2 separate regions of the Homo sapiens genome follow, and region 1 is linked to region 2. Evidence: promoter capture Hi-C in human tissues and cell types (Jung and others, 2019). All regions are on one chromosome and are shown on one strand. Each heading gives the region's core, a stretch centred on a gene start or on the middle of the fragment in contact. The rest is flanking DNA. Distances are from core to core; before and after follow the strand shown.

Region 1 (4,766 bases), core at 2,048-4,547, 220 kb after region 2:
TGAAACCTAGAAGCCATAAGAGAAAACATGGAAATGTTTGACTACAAGGCTTCTATACAGAAGAAATGGCCATAAGTCAGTTTGAAAGACAAATGACAAAACGGAGGGGATATATCCTGGTTGCCCCCTACCCTGTCCCCTCCTGCCCGCCAGCCCCTCCAAGCCGAGACGGGGACGAGCAGGAGGGATGGCTGGGGCTGTGAGAGTCGAGACCGAGCACCTGGCAGAGGCTTCTCCTGCGGCGCTCTGGCCAGCGCCCACATGTTTAGGGGCCGGGAAGTCCCGGAAACCCCAGGCGGGCCATCTGGGTCCTCAGCAGGTGCCTTGGCACAGCCGAGCCGAAGTCCTCCTGGAGGCTGCTCACCACTTCCCTCGCGTGGCCATCCTAAGAACTGCAATCCTCTGTTCCTGCTCAGCCCCTTCTGAGCATCAAGGCGAGAATTTAAAAATAAATAAATAACAGCTAATTTTTTGAGGGAACTAACCATGTTCCAGGCATTGTGTTAAACACTTAACCTAGCATATTTCATTTTCCCCTCAAAACAGCTCTTCGAGGTAGGTGCACTGTATTCTTATCTCCATTTGATGGACGGAAACTGAGGCTTGAAAAAAGTGACTTGTCTTTCTAAGTGGTGGCACCAGAATTTACTGCCACATTCCTGGCCTCAGCTCTTAATGTAATAAAGCCAAACCTTTGGGAAAATTCAATAAAACAAACTTTTTTGAGGTTTACCTTTATCCAGGCCTTTTGCAGGTGCTGGGGATTCTGAATTGAGGAAAATAGTCATCAGAGGTGACAGCAGAGGAACACTCCTGATACAGCGAATCCTGATGGCTACAGAGGACTCATTCACCCCAGGAAGCGGTGGGGGCAGTGGGGAGGGATCCCAGAGGAGACGTCCTCCAAGCTGCATCTTGTGGAGAGAGAGTAGTGGGGTGGCACTTACTAAGGTGGGCTGGATGACAAGTGGGGCTTGGGGGAGGAGCAGTGATCTATATGCTCTGAGTTTGGGGGTAGACCACAGATGGGGCTGAATAAAGTACACCAGGACCAAGCTAAGGAGTTTGGGTGCAAAGATTTTTTTGAAAGCTTTTCCATGTTTCAGTTGCTTGGGTCTAGGGACAGCCTGCTCTGCCAACCCAACCTGCCTCCTTTGCAGATGCTTTCTCACCCCAGTTCAAGGTGCTCTCAGAAACTTGGGAGTCCCTCCTGATTCCTTCCTCTTCCTCACTTCTATCCACTTAATTATCAGAGCCATCCAGTTTGCTTCCTAAATACTTCCTAGGTTCACCCACTTCTCTCCATCCCTCTTGCCTCTCCTCTAGTCCAGCCTGCCTTCCTGTCACTCCTGAATTCAGCTGCTGTTGGTGACTTGGTCTCACCACCTTCAAACTTTTACACAAGAGAAATCCTTCTAAAACAAATCTGACCACATCCCCTCTCTTACTGAAAATGCTTTTCATTGATTCATTCAACAAATATCAAGTATTTATTATATGTTGAATATTCAAGATATAATTATGAGCAAAACATGGAATTTAAAGCCTATGGGGGTGACAGACATGAACCAAATCACCCCCTAAATAATTGTATAATAAAAACTGGGTTAGATGCTATGGGAGGGACTGGCCTAGACAGGGAGATCTTTGAATGCTCCCCAAGGCATCCCATCTGAAGCTTGAATAGCAGTCAGCCAGATCAACAAGCCAAGGATGGGTAAGAGCTTACACAAAGGCCCTGAAGTTGCTTCTCTGAGTTTCTGTTTCCTTGTCTGTATAATGGGAATATTTAGAGTTATGAGGATTAAATGAGTTAATATGTGTAAAGTTCTTAGAACAGACCTTAGGATATAAATTTTCCATAAGTGTTAGTTATAATTTTATATATATATATATATATATATATATATATATATTTGAGATGGAGTCTCACTCTGTTACCCAGGAGGCAGTGGCGTGATCTCTGCTCACTGCAATCTCCGCCTCCCAGGTTGAAGCAATTCTTCTGCCTCAGCCTCCTGGGTAGCTGGGATTACAGGCATGTGCCACTACGCCTGGCTAATTTTTGTGTTTTTTGTAGAGATGGGGTTTCACCATATTGGCCAGGCTAGTCTTGAATCCTGATCCACCCACCTCAGCCTCCCAAAGTGCTGGGATTACAGGAGTGAGCCACTGCGCCTGGCCAATAACTTAATAATATATATTTTTTTAAGTGGAGAGATATTGGAAATCTTTCAGCAAAGGAGTTAAAGGAGAAAGTAGCATTTTTTAAATGTCACTCCAGCTGCAATGAGGAGCATGGATTAGTACAAAGAAAGAGCAGATTTGGGGAAACTAATGAGACTTTTGCAGGGGTCCATTGAGAGCTATGGGGATTTGGGCTAGGGAGGCAGAGGGAAATTGGAGAGATTTTGTGGTTTAGGTAGTAGACACTGCTGGACTTGCTGTTTTATTGGTAGTGGGAGGCTGTAGGAGGTAGGTGGTCCCTACAACTGGTTGGGTGGTGATGTTCTTCACCAAGACAGGGAAGCCTGAATGATGCCTAGGCCTTGGGGGGGATGCTGATTCTGGATGTGTTTAGATGCACACACTGTGGGACATCCCAGATGAGGGCTGCATAGGCAGCTGATTCACTGTGGAGTTCAGAAGAGAAACTGTGGCTGGAGATACAAAACTAAGATTGTTGGTGATATGGTTTGGATCTGTGTTCCCACCTAAATCTCATGTCAAATTTGTAATCCCCAGTGTTGGAGGTGGGGCCTGGTGGGAGATGATTATACTAGGGGTGGTTTCTCATGAATGGTTTAGCACCATCCCCTTGGTGCTCTTCTCATTATAGTGAGTGAGTTCTCATGAGATCCAGTTGTTTAAAAGTGTGTGGCACCACCCGACCACTCTGTCTTGCTCCTGCTCCTGCCATGTAAGACGCGCTGGCTCCCCCTTTGCCTTCAGCCATGATTGGAAGCTTCCTGAGGCTTCCCCAGAAGGCAAGCAGATGCTAGTATCATGCTTCCTGTACAGCCTGTGGAACTCTGAGCCAATTAAACCCCTTTCCTTTCTTTTCTTTTTTTTTTTTTTTTTTTGATGGAGTCTCACTCTGTCACCTAGGCTTAGGCTGGAGTGCAGTGGCGTGATCTCAGCTCACTGCAACCTCCACCTCCCAGGTTCAAGGGATTCTCCTACCTCAGTCTCCCAAGTAGCTGTGACTACAGGCATGTACCACCATGCCCAGCTAATTATTTTTGGTAGAGACAGGGTTTTACCATGTTGCCCAGGCTGGTCTCGAACTCCTGATCTCAAGTGATCTGCCCACCTCAGCCTCCCAAAGTGCTGAGATTACAGGCATGAGCCACCGTGCCCAGCCTCCCTTTTCTTTATAAATTACCCAGTCTCAGGTATTTCCTTATAGCAATGCAAGAACAGACTAATACAGTTGGCAAATAAGTGATCACCTCAATCACCCCATCTTTGAGATGGTAGAGGTAGGAGATAGCTAGATGATTTTTTTTTTTTTTTTTTTTTTGAGACGGAGTCTCGCTCTTTCACCCAGGCCGGACTGCAGTGGTGCTATCTCGGCTCACTGCAAGCTCCGCCTCCCGGGTTCACACCATTCTCCTGCCTCAGCCTCCTGAGTAGCTGGGACTACAGGTGCCCGCCACCACGCCCAGCTAATTTTTTGTATTTTTAGTAGAGACGGGGTTTCACCGTGTTAGCCAAGATGGTCTCGATCTCCTGACCTCGTGATCCACCTGCCTCGGCCTCCTAAAGTGCTGGGATTACAGGCGTGAGCCACCGTGCCTGGCCGCTAGATGATTTTTAAGGTTTCTTCTGGTTCAAACACGCATAGGATTCCAAGTGTTAAGGTCAGTAGGACTCCAGAGACAGAGAGAAAATCGATGTGGTCTGAAAGACTTGGCAGAAGCTCCTTGGAGGCTATTTGTTATTCATTCATCAGTCTTTTACTGAGCAGCTACTCTGAGCCACATGCTCTATTGGGGGTGGAAGGGTAAATAAGACCTAGCCGCCAAACCAGTGTGGTGGCTGACATTTGTAATTTCAGCTACTCAGGAGGCTGAGGCAGAAGACTGCTTGAGTCCAGGAGTTCAAGGCTACAGTAAACTGATTGTATCACTGCACTCCAGCCTAGGTGACAGGGTAAGACCCCATCTCTGGAGAAAAAAAAAAAAAAAAGGCCGGGCATGGTGGATTACAGGCTGTGATTATGCCTGTAATCCTGGCACTGTGGAAGGCCAAGGCAGGTGGATTGCTTGAGGTCAGGAGTTCAAGACCAATCTGACCAACATGGTGAAAACCTGTCTCTACTAAAAATACAAAAATTAGCGGAGCGTGGTGGCAGGTGCCTGTAATCCCAGCCACTTGGGAGGCTGAAGCAAGAGAATTGCTTGAAACTGGGAGGCGGAGGTTGCAGTGAGCCAAGAATGCACCACTGCACTCCAGCCTGGAGACACAGCAAGGCTCCATCTCAAAAAAAAAAGCATCTCAGGGTCTCAGGCTTGTTAGACCAAGGAATGTTTCCTAAAGGAAGTAACAACTAAGATTAAGACCCAAAAGTCAGGTAAAAGAAAGCTCCCTCCTCTTGAATTTTTCACTTTAGACTTTACCATGCACTCTCAGAGTCCATTCCAGGAACAAAGGCCCAGGCAATAGCAGTTGCACTTCCTAGGTTCTGCTGAATTTTCCTTCTTCTCTGAGATCCTTCTTCTCAATGTTCCCTCTGGCCTCATCTTCACATTCTCCGCCAGGGC
Region 2 (4,951 bases), core at 1,240-3,739:
CACCTCTTGGGTTCAAGCGATTCTTTTGCCTCAGCCTCCTGAGTAGCTGGGATTACAGACACACACCACCACACCCAACTAATTTTTGTATTTTTAGTAGAGATGAGGTTTCGCCATGTTGACCACGCTGGTCTCGAACTCCTGAGCTCAGGTGATCCACCCGCCTTGGCCTCCTAAAGTGCTGGGATTACAGGTGTGAGCCACCATGTCCGGCCGAAAAAGTTGAAATTTTGATTGGGATGCATCACAGTTTATGTGAACTGGAGGAAGAGTGACATACTTAGAATGTTCTATTTCAACTCGTGAATGTGTTGTATCACTATTCTCACCATTTAAACAAAAAATTTGGAGTTTTATTTATAATTTCCTGCATAATTCTTGTTTATTCTTAGCTGTATTTTTCTGATATTTTATTATGAAAACATATACATATACAGAAAAATTGAAAGAATTTTACATTACGGCATCCCTATACCACTACTTAGATTCTACCATTAACATTTTATTGTATTTCATGCTGTATTTTTGTTGAGTAGCAGATAGGAACATAGACTGCCTGTGTTCACCACTTGTAAGCCACATGATCTTGGCAAGTTATTCAACTTCTCTAAATCTCAGTTTTCTTATCTGTAAAGTGGGAATAATAATAGTACTTACTTCCAGTGGTTTCTGTGATGACAAAATAAGTTAAAATATGAAAGGCACTTAGGACAGAGCCTCATATTCTGTAACTATTATATGCTAGTGTATTCATCAGCTTGGGCTGCTGTAACAAAATACCATTGACTGGGTGGCTTAAACCACGGATATCTGGCCGGGCGCAGTGGCTCATGCCTGTAATCCCAGCACTTTGGGAGGCCGAGGCGGGCAGACACCGAGGTCAGGAGTTTGAGACCAGCCTGGCCAACATAGTGGAACCCCGTCTGTACTAAAAATACAAAAAATTAGCTGGGCGTCGTGGCGGGCGCCTGTAATCCTAGCCACTTGGGAGGCTGAGGCAGGAGAATCGCTTTAAGCCAGGAGGCGAAGGTTGCAGTGAACCGAGGTCACGCCACTGCAGTCCAGCCCTGCGGACAGTGCGAGACTCCATCTCAAAAAAACAAACAAACAAACAAACAAAAAACCGGAAATTTATTTTCTCAGTGTGGAGACTAGAAGCCCCAAGTAAGGTCGAGTTGGGTTCGTTTCTGACTAGGACTATATTCTAACCTTAATTACTTCCATAAAGGCCTTATCTCTAAATACTCTCCAAATACAATGGAGGTTAGGGCTTCAAGATAAATTTTGGGGAATCCAAACATTCGGTTCATAACAGCTAGCAAGTACTATAATTGTATTCTATTTCCTCATTTGTTGTTTTTGTAAACTGTTGATGTAGAAATGTATTTGGAGTGATGTACTCAAATTTTGTTGGAGGGAGAAAACTCAGCAATAAAACAGCATTACAGTATAATCGCTTTTGTGGAAAATATATAACAATGCATGAAATACGTTGTGTGTGTGCAGGAAAGGTTGTACACCAACTGTTAGCAAGGTTACCGCTGCTTGCTGAAATTACAGGCAATAATTTTTTTGTTTTTGTGTATTTTCTGGCATTTCAGAAATACAAGGTAAGCAATAAACATGAGAACTTTTATTGAATACTAGAAGAGAAAACTGTTGTGGTATTCTTTTAACAATATACCGGAATCCATTCAACTGTCTGCTGAGAATAAATAACTGGCATGTACATAATATTTAGGGAAAGTGCTATGGATTATTTTACACCAGTGTCGTTTCACCAAAAAACGTGATGCCGATGGCTCCCTTTTGTCACGGGTTTCAAAGGCTCACCCTAACGTTCACGTGCATTTTCCCAGCGGAGGAAAGATGGTTGTTCTTCATCAGAGTCTGGGGCCCAAGAACGCAGGCTCCATCTCCTCCCGCAGGAGCCAGGCTGATGATGCTCGCAGGGATCGGATACTGGGAGCCCCTGAACGCAGCCAACCCGGCGCGCACCGGTGGGGGCGTCTGCGCTGGCGGAGCGGCTCCCCGGGAGGACGCTGGGAACCATGCTCTAGCCAGCCGCTGCGCAGGCGCACTGGGCCCCGACTGCCCGCCGCAGCGCTACGTGGGAGCTTGGCCGCGCAGTGCCGGAACCCGGCTGCAGCGGTGGGAAGGCGGGGGCGTGCCGGCCCAGCGGGGAGAGGGTGAGCGGGTGGCTGTCCCGGGCTTGGGGAGCTGGGCGAGCCGGGAAGCGCGAGTTCCGCCCGCGGCCACCCTGTCGCGCGCGGTGCTCTCCGCAGCCCCGGAGTCGTGCTCAGACAAAGGCTGGGAGGCTAGGGCCGGGGGCGTTTTGCTTTGTGGGGAGGACTTAGCCTCTCATTTGGGGAGGAGGAGGCGGGGTCTAGCGGTTTCGCGGTTTGCTACAGCCGACTAGTGAAAGAGCTGGGATTCCAAATCCCCGGCTACTTTACACATAATTACTGCCCCAAACAAAGAATTGGGTTGTATTCGTCTCTTTGTGCTTCCTGACATGTGCGCGGTGCTTTGAATTTTGTGGGCTGTGTCTGCCCACCGTCTCCGTGTATCTTTTGGAAACATTTTACAGTGATCCATATATGTTCTAGCGTTCTGCCCTATGACTGAGCCTCCTTAGTCCTTTGCTGATTCTAATGTCTTCTGCTCAGCATCTGCAGGGGCTGCTGAGAGTAAATACTTGGCGCCTCCAGCTGCTGGCCAAGGAGACAGATGGAGCTCAAGTTGGGAGATACGCCCTGAGAGCCGATGATAGACACAAGTCCAGATCTCGGATTTTGATACTGTATGTTCCCTGGGTTCCTGAGAGAGGACATTGAGGAGTAGGAGTCGGCGATTAAGGAGATCGGTACAATTGGGAAGCCTCCTGTCAGAGCTTCCAGCAATTTCCTCATCAGAGGTGGACAAGCCCTATGGGCTAAGACAGAGGGTCCTCAGAAAGGAGTGCGGACGCCGTCATGCTGCAGCAGCTCCTGATCACCCTGCCCACCGAGGCCAGCACCTGGGTGAAGTTGCGTCATCCAAAGGCGGCCACGGAGCGGGTGGCCCTGTGGGAGGATGTGACTAAGATGTTTAAAGCAGAAGGTAAGAATAAACTGATGGGTGGGAGGGAGGAAAAGCAGTCCCCTCTAGTGTGAGAAGGAATGAGTCACTTGAGTGGAAGCATCTCTTAGGGAGACGAGTGGGTGGAGGGTTTCCGGAGTTGTTGATTGTGGCTCCTAGTCTGGGGTTTTCCTAAGTAGTGGTGGTCTTTTCAGCCTAGGACCAGTATTTCAGTGTCATGGTTATGTATATTATTTATTTTCATCTTTCCCATGGCCATGTGGGGCAGGATGGACTTAACCTGATTTTTCTTATTCTAACAGTGGGGAAATGTAAATCAAATGGGAGGCCTGCCCAGGGTCACACAGGAACTTGGTGGCTAGGTCAGAAAGAGAAGCAGCAGGGGAAGTACCAGGTGAGCCTGGAGTAACTTGTGCTAGAAAGCAAGGAAGAGCTTAAAGACTATGGATATGTGTCAAAAGAGGCCAGGTTTAAGGGTCTCTCACTCGACAGATTTGGGAAAGCTTAAGTATCCAAACTGATGGTAACACCTTGAATAAGTAAAATTCCACATGATCACCTTGACACTTAAAATAGAGAAAGACGTGGGGGGGGGGGAATTCATTTGCAAACATTGGAGGTAATTAATACACTGATTCCTTACTTTGAAAAATAGGTTATTATGGGAATGAATGTGCATTTACCTTGCCTTTTAGATCCTCTTCAGTTGGTGAGGGAAAGCTTTTTACAGAAAATGCGTGCCAATAATGAAGGTAGAAAGAGGCCAGGTGTGGTGGCTCATGCCTGTAATCCCAGCAATTTGGGAAGCCAAGGTGGGCGGATTGCTTGAGACCAGGAGTTTGAGGTCAGCAGTTTGAGACCAGCCTGGCCAACATGATGAAACCCCATCTCTGCTAAAAATACAAAAATTAGCTGGGCGTGGTGGCACATGCCTGTAATCCCAGCTACTCGGGAGGTTGAGGCACGAGAATCGCTTGAACTAGGAAAGGGGAGGTTTCAGTGAGCTGAGATGGCGCCACTGCACTCCAGGCTGGGTGACAGAGCAAGACCTTGTCTCAAAAATAAATAAATAAATAAATAAATGTAGAAAGAATGATAGAATCTTTTACCGTAAATAAAATAATTGAAAGGTTAATGGGGAACAGATACTCACATGATATCAAAGTATTATCCCCTCAAATTACTTACTAAATGGCAAGGAATGAACATAATTTTCCAATAGTGAGGTGTGGTGGTCACAGTTTTAATCAAATGTCTCAGTAATGGGATAGCCGGGCATTTTATACTTTGCAGATACTGTAATATAAAGCACCTGGTACCACCTACAAGGTATTCCTACCAAAAATGTTGAACATGATCCTAAATTAAGTTTAAAGACTGAACTGCTGGTTTACAGAAAATACAGGGGATGGAGAAATGAGATAAACCTCACATTGAGGATACAGTCAGACTGTTCTTGTATCTTAAAAAGACAACATCATGAAGAAAGGGGAAGTACTTATTCTAGAGTAAAAGAGACTAGAGGTAACAACCACTTTGAATGTGTGAGCCTTGATTAACTCCTGGTTTGGAAAAAATCCAGAATAAAAGTTGAGGAAACAGTTGAGGAAATCTGAATATGGACTGAATATTTAGATGATACTATGGAATTATTGTTAATTTTCATAGATTTAATAAATAGTACTGTGGTTGTACAAGAGAAGATCCTTATTTGAAATATTTAGGGATAAAGTATTATGATGCAGACGACTTTGAAGTGCTTCAGAAAAAATGTAGATAGGTAAAGCAAATATGGTAAATATTAACAATTGTTGAATCTAGATGTGGATGTATAGATGTTCAATATTCATGATAAAAAGTTGGAATAAAA

The links. The method cuts DNA at HindIII sites, captures the fragments that hold promoters and counts their contacts. A contact is called where the count stands out against the background at its distance.
Region 1: a contact is called between a fragment that was not itself captured here and the fragment with the promoter of ZFP69B in region 2, in 2 of the 25 tissues and cell types used here (adrenal gland and pancreas).

The regions. Positions count from the first base shown.
Region 1 is chr1:40,668,694-40,673,459 of GRCh38, forward strand. It overlaps a transcript of RIMS3 not described here. Among named protein-coding and RNA genes, the nearest start is that of RIMS3, 5.4 kb to the left of the region's middle. RefSeq lists enhancers at 218-367, 428-477. The HindIII fragment of the contact is 3,826 bases long and covers 1,385-4,766 here.
Region 2 is chr1:40,447,987-40,452,937 of GRCh38, forward strand. It overlaps ZFP69B (ZFP69 zinc finger protein B), which reads left to right and starts at 2,490. Exons shown (of 5, transcript NM_023070.3): 1 at 2,490-3,102. The coding sequence starts at 2,976. ZFP69B-DT (ZFP69B divergent transcript) reads right to left here and starts at 2,053. Exons shown (of 5, transcript NR_198977.1): 1 at 1,834-2,053. RefSeq lists a silencer at 2,109-2,368 and an enhancer at 2,584-3,783. The HindIII fragment of the contact is 23,553 bases long and covers 1-4,640 here.